Linked DNA regions of Homo sapiens: region 1 is linked to region 2. The links are contacts of gene promoters, found by promoter capture Hi-C in blood cells and fetal thymus (Javierre and others, 2016). All regions are on one chromosome and are shown on one strand. The core of a region is centred on a gene start or on the middle of the fragment in contact, and the rest is flanking DNA. Distances in the headings are between cores, read along the strand shown.

Region 1 (5,276 bases), core at 117-2,616, 1.5 Mb before region 2:
GAATATGTCTTTTGTGATATATATATATATTCAAGTTGTTTATATGGTTTAATGTTTATTATTGAAGAAAATAAAGGATATCGCTTAGATTTTTATTTCTATCAATCCGTGCTAATAGCTTATATTAAATGCCAATGTAATTATTCAGATGATATATATGTTTTGTGATATATCACAAAAGACATTTTCAACATATATAGATATGTTGAAACACGTATCTATATAGATATAGATATATGTTGAAACATGTATCTATATCGATATAGATATATGTTGAAACATGTATCTATATCGATATAGATATATGTTGAAAATGTCTTCTAGTATGTGACTTGCTTTTTCACTGTCTTAAAGGGTATATTTTAATGAAAATTCTTAATTTTAGAGAAGTTCAGTGTATCAGTATTTTTCTTTATGGTTATTATTTTTGAGTCCTGTTTCAGAAATGTTTACTTAGCCTAATTCTATGAAGATAGTCATTTATTTAACCACTGGAGTCTTATTGTTCTATTTTTCATGTTTAGATCTGGATTTCATTTTGTGTGTGTGGTGTGAGGTAGGGTTAAAGATTTTCTTTCCATATAAATATCCAATTAATTCAGCACCATTTATTTGAAAATAGAATCTCTTTCCCACTGCACTGCATTGGTCTTCGATCCTAGATCAAGTGGCCATTTATGTATGGGTCTGTTTTTGGAGTCTATTTTGTTACATACACATAAAGTCCTTATATACTTACCACACTGTCTTTCTGGCTAGGTATATACCTAACAGGAGTTACTCCATATGTATATTGAAAGACATTTCCAAGAGTCCTTAAAGCAGCATTAATTCTAACAGTCCCAAATTGAAAGCAACAACTCAAATGCCTATCTTATAAAATAGCGTATCATACAGTGGAATCCTATGAGGAAAAGGAAGAAAGAACAGAAACAGCAGATGACTGCCCTATGCACTGCTTGAGTCTCCCAAGCATAATGCTAAGGGAAATAAACCAGCCACAAAAGAATACATATTTTTGATTATAATTATATAAAGTTCAAAAGCAGCTAAACTAATTTGGAGTGGTAGAAGTTATAATAGTGGTTACACTTGGGGATAATAATTGAGGGAGGAAGCAAGGGTCCTACTGGGTGCCAGTGATGTTTGGTTTCTGCATCTGGTTGGTGATTCCAAATGTGGGTTTACTTTGTAAAAATCCATTAGGTTTTACACTTAGGATTTTTTTTCTGGAAGTCTATCATACTGCAACAAATTAAGTTTATTCAAACAATTAAATTGTGAACATTAATCAAACTCAGATACCAATTGGTTACTTCCTCCTGCACTATTTAGGGCCGTGCCTTTTACAGTTTTTTGCTGTCTGTGGATCAGCATGTGAAACATTTCTGCTGCTGTGGACACTTGTACGTGGTGAGACCTGCTAAAGCCCTGCACTAGTTGATGGCCTGGAGAGGGGGTGGGTGGAGAGAGGGGCAGCTTGCTGGAAGAGCCTGAGGACTGGATCTTCCTTGGAATATACTGAAAGCACAAAAGGAGCTGGGCCTGGGTGGAAAGTTGACACATTAGTGAAGAGTGTGTTGGTCACTGCAGTCATCTTACACTGCAGTCGTGATTGCTTGGAGTTTTTATGATTTGTTTAGTGTAGTTTTGAGCTTCAGGTGCACTCGAAAGTTTTAATATTTGAAAATGTGCTGCTCATAATAAAACTTTGAGAACCACTCGTTTGTGGAGCACCTGCTCTTCACATAACAGTTTTCTAGATAGAGCTTTTTGGTCTCAAAAGCAGTTAACAGAGCAAAACCAGTTATCCAGATATACGGACAAAATGGAGAGTTGTTTGATCACTGCTAAGTAATAGCATACCTAGGATCTCAGGTGGTCGGTCAACAGAGAGTTTTAGCTCTACTGAACACTTATTCTGCCTAATCTAAATATTCTTTTGGGTAGGAAAGGACGAAGGGGAAATAATCTTCAGATGGGTCATTTTAAGACACATTGGAATTACCTGGATTCTAAAACATACTAATGTGAAGACCCCACCTGGCTGCAATTGAATCAGAACCTCTGGGGGTTTCCTAAAGTGCCCTGGGAGATTTTAAAGTATAGCCAGGGTTAACAACAGCTGTGAAACCTTTCTTATATGTTGGGTTCTCGACTTCCCTGTGTAGCTCTGTTAGATATGAGAGAACAAACAGCTCCCGGAATCCTGCAGATGATAGTTGGTGAGCATGTGGCTGGTGGGGTGTAGGGGGCAGGATTAAACCTTAACTTGCCGCGGTGGAGTTTTTCTTTAAGGGAGTCGAGCTGCCCTTTTTTGGAGGGGATATAAAATGTCAATGAAGGGGAATAATTCCTTAGTAAAATTTGGAGAAATAGATTTTATATGTGAAAATGACAGTCTGCCCTATGTGTCTTTTTTTGATCTAGGTAAAGGTAAAAATTATGTCAATTAAAAAAAAAAAAGGCCCTGGGTTGGTTATTTGGAGCCTTAATCCCCCTTGATTAATCATTACTGTGCAGCTCCTAGTCCCTGTAGTTCCTGGCGAGTCCCTGGGCTCTTGTCCATCCCTCACAAGAGAAACTATATAGGTGTACCCATGGCATTCTGCAGCATGAAGGAGGAGCCTCCCTAGGAAAAATTGTCTTTAGAAAGAATTAGTTTGGCAGAGGCACTAGCACTATTTCTAGAGAGAGGTGATTGGATGTTTCACTTTGCTAAATGAGTGTAGTAAAAACGCTGTTTACTCACAGAAGATTATAAATCGGCACTTGCCAGACAGGTGTCTGTTTGTAAGGGTGATTTATGCGGGGAGGATGTGAACCATCTGGTGATGCTCCAGTGCTCCGCCCGAGGGTGGGCTGACATCTGGGTTGGCACGTCATGACCTTTGCGTGAATGTGTACTTTCTGAATGCTAGAGCATTTTCCTCTTGCCATGCTGACCTTCGCGGTAAAGAGGAATGAACATTGAACTCCTGAGGCATCTATAAAACATATTTTATTGGCTGCAAAGCAGTAACATGAAGATTTCAGTCGTTACTTGTTTGTAACCTTAGTTATGCAGTGTGTACTCATTTTCTCCTCAACTGGACTGCACAAATTATTAGAGGTTGTCATTCCCATTTATTTTTTTAGGTCATTTTTTTTTTCTCTTCCACATTGACAAGGATGAGTCTTCTAGCCAAGAAGCTTGTGCCCCTCACTTGTCTTGAGTAGGCACCAAGGAAGAGTAGTGACCTGAGGGGAAGGCCAAGTCCTTGGAGACCCCTGTTTAGAGGCCGGAGAGGCACCAACAGTTTGGCAGCAGCAAAGTTTTCTCAAGCTGTCCCTATCTTGATTGTGACACAATTGTTAACACATATACCTTTGACAGGCAGTTTTATTTACGTATTCTAAATGGGAGGTGTAGTAGAAATGAACTTTAATATTCTTTGGGGAGAGAAAATCTACAGCCTTTTTTTTTTGGAACATTCAGTACTCAGTAATATTTACCAAGTGAAGAATAAGAGAGGTTTCCTTTCCTACAGCATAATTAGCCAGATCTTACCCATCTTCATTGTTAGGAAAAAAAGTATTGTTGAAAAAGATTTTAAAATAGTTAAATAGCCCTTTTGTCCTAAGGAATAGCTGCCGGGTATGAATGCTACCCGGAGGGGTCTGGAAGCAAGAGAGTGAAATAGTGCGAGAGAAACAGGCACATAGCCACATAGCAAGCGTTCTACTGGGCTCCTTACTGGGAAGTTGGTGAGATGTGTGGCCTCTGTGGCAGTGGCCCTGACCTGTCCTCATCATTACTGGTTGCCAGACAGTAAAGTAAGACAAGGTGGAGGATGGCTTAGAAGATACCACCAAAATAACAGGGCTTGATAAAGCTGTCCCCAGATACAGTTTGGCAACTCTCAGGGCCGTCATTCCTGGGAACAACAGGGACCACGGGATCTATTAGTTATGTTCCAAAATGGCACTTAAAACCTTTCCACACCAGGTCACACATGGAAAATGATATAATTGTCTAGATAACATGAGGAGATTGCTTGGGGCCAGAGGCCCCAGCCAGCTGTGGCAGGGGTTGGAGGGTGGAGGGGGAGGGGGTTGCGGGGACCCACGCCTTGGCAGGCCATTTGGCAGTAATACTTGGCAGTAACCATTAGTGCTGTGCTGGGGCGTGTTTGTCAGGAGGTTGTGCTTCAAAAGGTGGTAGAGAGAAGAATGGAGGAACAAGGAAAGGTACAGTAAGCTGCAGAGTGCTGTGTATCTGTCACTATCGAGGGGATGCCCTTTGCACCATGATTCTCACTTTAGTGGTGAGTTGAATCTTGGCCTCAAGGCATGTCATGGAGCTGTGGCCACTGTGGAAACAACACCAGCAGACAGCTTAGCCTGTATATGGATGGAGCGTCTCAGCAGGGAGAGGAACAGTTGAGCATCTACCTTCACAAGAGGGCTGCTTTTCTACATAGAGAGGACTGTTAGTCCAGCCTTAGGCTTTTCTGCTGTATCTAAACAGAGCAGCCCATTGGGGTCATGTTTGAAAACAGCAACAACAGAGTATCAAGTAGGTACAGAGGCTGAATTCCCTGAATTTCTGTGCAGAAGTTCACACCAGAGACCTGGACACTAGTTGGGGAGCTGGCCTGTGGAGACCAAGAGCTGCAACTTGAGAGTCATGAGTTCTGATTCGGGTCTGCACCTCTGCTTGGTTGAAGTGTTAAATGTGTCCAGAAGACTGTGTTTTCTCCTCTTTTTTCTGTAAAAAGTGCGTGAAATCTTGTCTGCTTGATTTCTTGTATGTCTTTTCGGGACCAGGGCAAGTACTTTTCGCATGACTGACATGGTAAGTAAAACCTGTATGGATCTTGGGAAGAGCTCTTGGTCTGAATGATTCAGTTTTTGCTATTTTGCTGTTGATTTGATTATTTATGTGAGAAAGATCTGTGCTGTTCCTGAAAATTTGCTAATAAATCCATTAAAATATCCCCCCCGCCGCCCCCCGTCAAAACACCCTAACAAGAAACTATCCTATTTTAGAGGGCACGTTTACTTTTTCCCATCTCTTATTTGAAATGTTCTTTTCAACATTCCCTGCTTTGCTTTTTTGAATATCATGTTTTAGTTTTTTATTTTTATTTTGGTTCACTGTGGCTTTGGTTTAATTACCCTTTTAAATGGAAACATGTAACTGCAGGCCCAGTCCATCATTTGTATTAGTTTTCAGCACTCTGAACTTGGGTGGGTTGGGCACGATTGTTTTAGTTGCTACCTGGATAAGACTG
Region 2 (6,128 bases), core at 176-2,675:
ATGTCCCGGCCCCTGCTAAGAGGACGGCCCTTTCTTCTGCCTCTTGCCCAACTCCAAACCCACATTCACGCCAGCAGCCTCTCCAGGACCGGCCTCGCTACAGCCAGCGAGGGCTCGAAATGAGGAGTGCCGCGGCTTTCAAACTCCGGGCTCCAACTTGAGCGCCCCGGCGCCCGAGTAGCTCCCGGGATGCAGAAGTTGCCACAAACTTCCCAGGCCCCTCTTCGCCGATGCTTACAATCAGCCGCGCAGGCAGGGAGCGGAGGGAGGCGGAGATGGACCGGGAAAGGATGCTGAGCAGACTCGCGATCCGGTGGGGGAACATTACCACTCCCGCAGCCCACTCCTCCAGGCACCTTACTGCCCGCCCGGCTCCAGAACGCACCGAGAGGCTCCCCTTTTCCCCATTTGCTTCCTTCGGTCTTTTCCACTCCCCTTTCCTTTTCTAAAAGGGGCCATACCGGTGACCTGAAGGAGTTTGTTCAGCCAGGGTCTATTGGGCAGGTGTGGTGGTGTGTCCACACCCAGACAGAAAACGAATGGCATCTTCAAATCCCCCATCCCGACCGCTCTCCCCTACTCTACCAGCCCACCCCTCCAAGGTCCGTCTGCGTGAGAAAAGGGGCTCGGAAGACCGTTGAAGCCCTGCGCCCACGAGAGGGGAGCCCAGCCGCCCCAATAGGGGACGAGGAGTGGGTGCTACGGAGAAGTTTGGATTGATTCCGGAAAAAGAGGGACAGAGATAAAACAGCAAGAGTAGCAAGGGGAAAAGGGAGGCAAAAGAGCAGAACTCACTCAGGCATGGACGTTGGGGGCGGCGGTGGCTGTCGAGTGCGGGCCTGAAACCAAGAACGGCTCCCCGGGCGGGCGCGCCGGCGTCGGACTTCCGAGGCGGCGGCTTCTGCCTCTCCTGCCGCCGCCGCCGCCGCCGGAGCTGCGGCTGCCGCGGAAGTTAATTGCAACTTGACTTCAAGTTGTCCTCTTTCCCCATACGAAGTGGGCGTTTAAAGGGGAGAGCGAGGCGAGGAGCGAGCGAGCGAGCGCGCGGGGCCAAGGGAAGGAAGAGAAGGAGGGGGAGGGAGGAGATGTTAACGGGCGGGGGGGGGAGAAGGGGGAGGGGGCGGCGGCGGGGGCGGGAGGGGGAAGGGGCCGGCGGGAGCTGCTCTCGTCTCGTCGGTCGCGGCGCCTGCAGTCTGGAGGCGCACCGGAGCGGCCGGGGCGTCCCCCGCGGGAGCCCGCAGCCACCCGGGACGCGCATCCAGACGTGGCGCTTCGGACCGGGCACGCTGCGCCCGGGGGCTCGGCGGACCCCGCGTAGCCGCCGCTTCGGAGCTTGTGCGGCGCGGGCTGGCCAGCGGGGCGGCCAGGGCCCGGCCCGCCTCCCCAGCGCCCGCCCGGCTTCTCCCCCTGGCGGTGGGAGCCTCGGCGGCCGCTGGCGACACTAGGCGCACTGAAGCCCGAGCCGAGCCGAGCCCGAGCCGCCGCCGCCGCCGCCGCTGCTGCGCACCGCTCCCGGGCTCCCTCCCAGCGCGCCGGCCGGGGTGTGGGGGGCGGCGGGCCGGAGGGGCGAGGGCGGGCCAGGGGGCGCACACGGGGGTTGGCGCGGAAGACAGGACCCTCAGCCTCGAGGGGTAAGTGTGGGCGCTTGGGGGTGCGCTTGGGGTGCGCGGCGCGGTTCTCGTCGCCCGCCAACCCTGCCCCCTCACCTCTCCGGGGGCCCCCAACACGCGCACTCCTCCTCTTGTCGCCTGCGGCTTCCTCTTGTTGCTTGTTGTTTGGCTGGGTTTTGGGGGGTGAGTAGAGGGGGTTACTGTAGTGTGTGTGCAGGCGGAGGAGGAAGTCAGGTGAGAGGCCGCGAAGCACCCCCACCCCAACCCAGCCTGCGTGGGGTGTATGCTTCCCCACTAGGGGCATTTGGGCCATTTTTTTTTTCTCCGTCAATGTTCGGTCGAGACGATGTTTCCTAGAGGGCCTCCTTCACTTACAGTCTGGTCTGTCCATCTCCCTTCATCCCACCCTCGTCCGTCTTAGCCCCTTGTCCAGGAGCCCTGCACCCCAAGTGAGGAGCACGTGGCGGAAGGAGGAGGAGGCCCTCTCTTGAAGACCCCCACGCTGTGACCCAGCCCATTAGTTTAAATATTTATCCTCACATCACCAGCTGTACTTTTCAACCCACTGGAACAAGACGCCTAGGCAAGGTCCAATTTCCCCAAAAAGCTGGGGGCAAAGCGGGAGAGATGAGGGTTTTATTGACATTGGGAGAGAAGGGGCCAAGGAACCTTCCCAAGTGGAGACTGAAACTCAAAAAATCTCTACAAAAAGACTAGGGTGACTGGAGGCTCAGGACTGCAGGCTTAGGAGAAACTGGAGCTCCATCAACTTTATTTCTCTCCCCCTGCCTCTCCTCCCCCCAGCTCTGAGGAAGCTAACAGGTCTTTTGTTTTGTATTGTGTAGCCTTTGGGAAATTTGCATTGAGTATGTCAACAGAAAATTACTACTGTTTACTCAAAGGGATTGCAGAAAGATAAAACATAGTAACATAGTTTTTACTTTTCCTCTTCTTTGTACGCTTGTGTGTATTTGGCAAGAAGTGTAGTTAGGTTCATGGCATGAACTGCAAAACGTCAGGTTGTAACAATAAGGACTGTAGAGCTGCCTAGGTGTATTTTTAGAAGCCGCACTTTCTTGAATTCCTTTCACACAAGGCTTGCTCTCTCATTAAGTCCCCATAAATAATTTTATTTAGAGAGGAGGAAACTATGGAAGCAGGAGGGAGATTGCTAAGATTTCCATCCTGCCAGCGCACAGCACTGTTTGCAGGGAAGTTCCTGGAAAGTGATTGTGGGCTGAGAATTCAGTTTTTCCTAAAAGCTCTGTTAGGTCCTGTTGTGTCAGATGGCTATGAATAAAGCACGCTGGGAAAATCCTGATATCCGTGCAGTCTTATTTTATCTTTTACACAGTGGTTGATTCGACTTTCAAGCCCTGGTGACAAACACATCAACTCTGCTGTATTTTTGTGTGCTTTTTCTAAATAAAGGAGAATACAGCATGTATTCATGCTGCTTTTTTCCCCTCATCCATGGTTATTGAATTCACTGGAAGTTATTCATCTTTTTTCAGTTGATCATCATTTTATGCCGAGACCACAATTCCAAACATATAGGAATTTTTTAAAATTATGAATTAGGGTTCTTTTAGGGAACCAACCCTCCTTTTTAAAGATACAAGTGCCCACCACAACTCCTAGTTTTGTAAAGCAAAGCAAAAAGGTATAAATGATTATAATGAGCAAAACATAGTAAAACGTTTTCCTTCTTGGATCACTTTCTGTCCCCACAGGTCCCAGGAGACATTAAATCCTCCTGCCTTAATTTACCAAAATGCTGCATTTCCTAACCAGTAACAATATCTGTGTCTGAGAAAGACATCAGGTTTGGAATGGAAAAAAATACATTCTCGGTATTTAATTACTGCTTAACAGTAATTTATTGTAGCAGGCAGTTGATTTTCCAATTCTGAAAGCCTGAAATGAAGCTGAACAGAAATTTGAAATTTTTAAAAAAGGTTTTTTTTTCTTTCTTACACTCTTATATACTCATCTGCTTCCCCAAGTTATCAGCCAAGCCCCTATAACTGAAAGTATGATATGCTCCTCTGAGTTGAACCGAGACCATTTTGCCCCTCATTTTTTGAATTTGCTTTTTCCTCCCAATAGTCTTGTATAGAAAGCACATGGGCTCTGTTAGAATACAGAATTATGCAATTCTGGGTGCAGTGCATTAAATGACATAGTTTGATAAACTCTTAAGCCTTACAGCTCAGATGTTAATAAAATATTGTAGTTGGCCACAAATTTCATAGCACAAGGCTAAGATCATTTTTCAGAAGAAAGGGGCATTTAATCTGGATTATTTGGTTAGTTGCTATGGTCTGAATGTTAGTGTTCCCCCAATATTGGGGTTCATGTGTTAGAACCTAATATCAAAAGTGATGGTATTAAGAAGTAGGGCCTTTGGGAAGTGATTAAGTCATGAAGGCTTCAACCCTCATGAGTGACAGGAGTGCCTTTGTAAGACAGGCTGAATCTAGCTACCTTGCCCCTTCCACTGTGTGAGGACACAGCAACAAAAGTGCCATCTGTGAAGCAAGGAGTGAGCCTTCACCAGATACTGAATCTGCTGGTGCTGTAATCTTGGACTCCTCAGCTTCCAGAACTGTGAGCAATAAATTTCTGTTGCTTATAAATTACCCAGTCAAAGATAATTTGTTGTAGCACCTCAAATGAACTAACACAATAATACATTTGTGCTACTAGATTTTTTTAACAAGTCCAAATGTGACTTAAATGACTGAAAGACAAATCTGGAACATATCAAATGGCCAATAATAGTAGCTGGTATCAAAAGCTGCACTGGTTATTTCCTTAAAAGAATAGACAATAAAATATTGCCTACTAAATATTAGAAGAAAGATCAAGGGAAAGGATAAAACAGCATTGGCCTTGAAGGAAGTTATTTGCTGGAAAAAAGACATCAAAATGTGAAAAGACAATGGATCAGTTAGTGGTTTGAATCAAAGAAATACTTGAGGAAGAAAAAATATATATATATATGTACATATTTTTCTCTTAAGACCAGAGGAATCAGAGATCCTAAAGCTCTAGGTTGGAAGGTATTTTTAAAGTTAATTTGTTCTGTCAAATCTTTAGAGGCCATTCAATGCAGATATTTTGGGTGTGAAGGGGAACTTACTACTTACCGCCATTAAGGCAAGGATTTTTACCTATACCGTACTTACCAGAGAATAGAGTTCACTATATATTGTGCAAGTGAATGGATAATTTCAAAAGTATTTCATCTTTATATACTTTATTATGTTTTTACCTTATATATATTTTTTTACCTTATATTGCACAGAATTAGTCTTCCTGAAACTTCCAACCGTTAGTCTTCGTCCTGCCAGTTGCAGCCAAACAGAACAAATTTGTTTATCAGTCAAGATAGGCAATGTGCTGGAGTAACAATTCCAATTTTTTAGTGGCCTGTAACAGCAAACGTTTTCTTGGTTATGGTTTGAATCCATTGCAGTTCAGCTGGTCTGTTCCATGTCTGTCACTCCAGGTCCCTGGCTAATGGAACAGTTGCCATCTTGAATGTTTCATGTTGTTATGGCAAAAATAAAGATCACTCTGGAGGGTTTCATGCAGACATTTAAATGCTATGGCCCAGAAATGCCATACATCATATGGCCTCACAAAGAATTAACCAGGATTAGTTGTGTGGCTCCAAAGAATCATGACAAGAAGGTCGGATAGTGCAGCCTATCTTGTACCCAACAGTAGAGAGCTGTGGTACACAATTCTGCAGACTACTGCTACTGGTAGTAATCCTTGTCCATATGATAACCTGCCAGCTAAACAGTCTCTTCCTGTAGCTTTATGGCCCAAGTCTTCCATTTTTTAGGGCAAACTGCCAGAGTAGCCACCAGCTTAGAGGGAAACATTGTTATCAGGGGAACCCGCCCCCAATATTTCAACATAGATTCTTTATATTTTCCCTAAGTGTCGGCCAGTCTGAGCAATAAAGAGAAAGAATACAAAGAGAAGAATTTTACAGCTGGGCCGCTGGGGATGACATCACATATCAGTAGATCCGTGATGCCCACCTGAGCTGCAAAACCTGCAAGTTTTTATTAGGGATTTCAAAAGGGGAAGGTGTGTATGAACAGGGAGTAGGTCACAAAGATCACCTGCTTCAAAGGGCAAAAGGCAGAGCAAAGATCACATGCTTCTGAGGAAACAGGACCAGAGCAAAATCAGAAACTCCTGATAAGGGTCTATATTCAGCGGTGCACGTATTGTCTTGATAAACATCTTAACAGAAAACAGGGTTCGAGAGCAGAGAACCGGTCTGACCTCAAATTTACCAGGGCTGGTGTTTCCCAATCCTAGTAAGCCTGAGGGTACTGCAGGAGACCAGGGCATATCTCAGTCCTTATCTCAACCACATAGGACAGACACTCCCGGAGTGGCCATTTGTAGACCTCCCCCCAGGAATGCAATTCTTTTCCTAGGGTCTTAATATTATATTCCTTGCTAGGAAAAGAATTTAGCGATATCTCTCCT

What was found. The method cuts DNA at HindIII sites, captures the fragments that hold promoters and counts their contacts. A CHiCAGO score of 5 or more calls a contact.
Region 1: a contact is called between a fragment that was not itself captured here and the fragment with the promoter of SATB1-AS1 in region 2, in 1 of 17 cell types (non-activated CD4 T cells). The highest score is 5.1, in non-activated CD4 T cells.

What each region holds. Positions count from the first base shown.
Region 1 is chr3:16,894,848-16,900,123 of GRCh38, forward strand. The region is part of intron 1 of PLCL2 (phospholipase C like 2); the gene reads left to right. Among named protein-coding and RNA genes, the nearest start is that of PLCL2, 13 kb to the left of the region's middle. The HindIII fragment of the contact is 3,647 bases long and covers 1-3,190 here.
Region 2 is chr3:18,443,812-18,449,939 of GRCh38, forward strand. SATB1-AS1 (SATB1 antisense RNA 1) reads left to right here and starts at 1,426. Exons shown (of 7, transcript NR_125803.1): 1 at 1,426-1,631. It also overlaps a transcript of SATB1 not described here. RefSeq lists a silencer at 1,332-1,551. The HindIII fragment of the contact is 8,267 bases long and covers 1-6,128 here.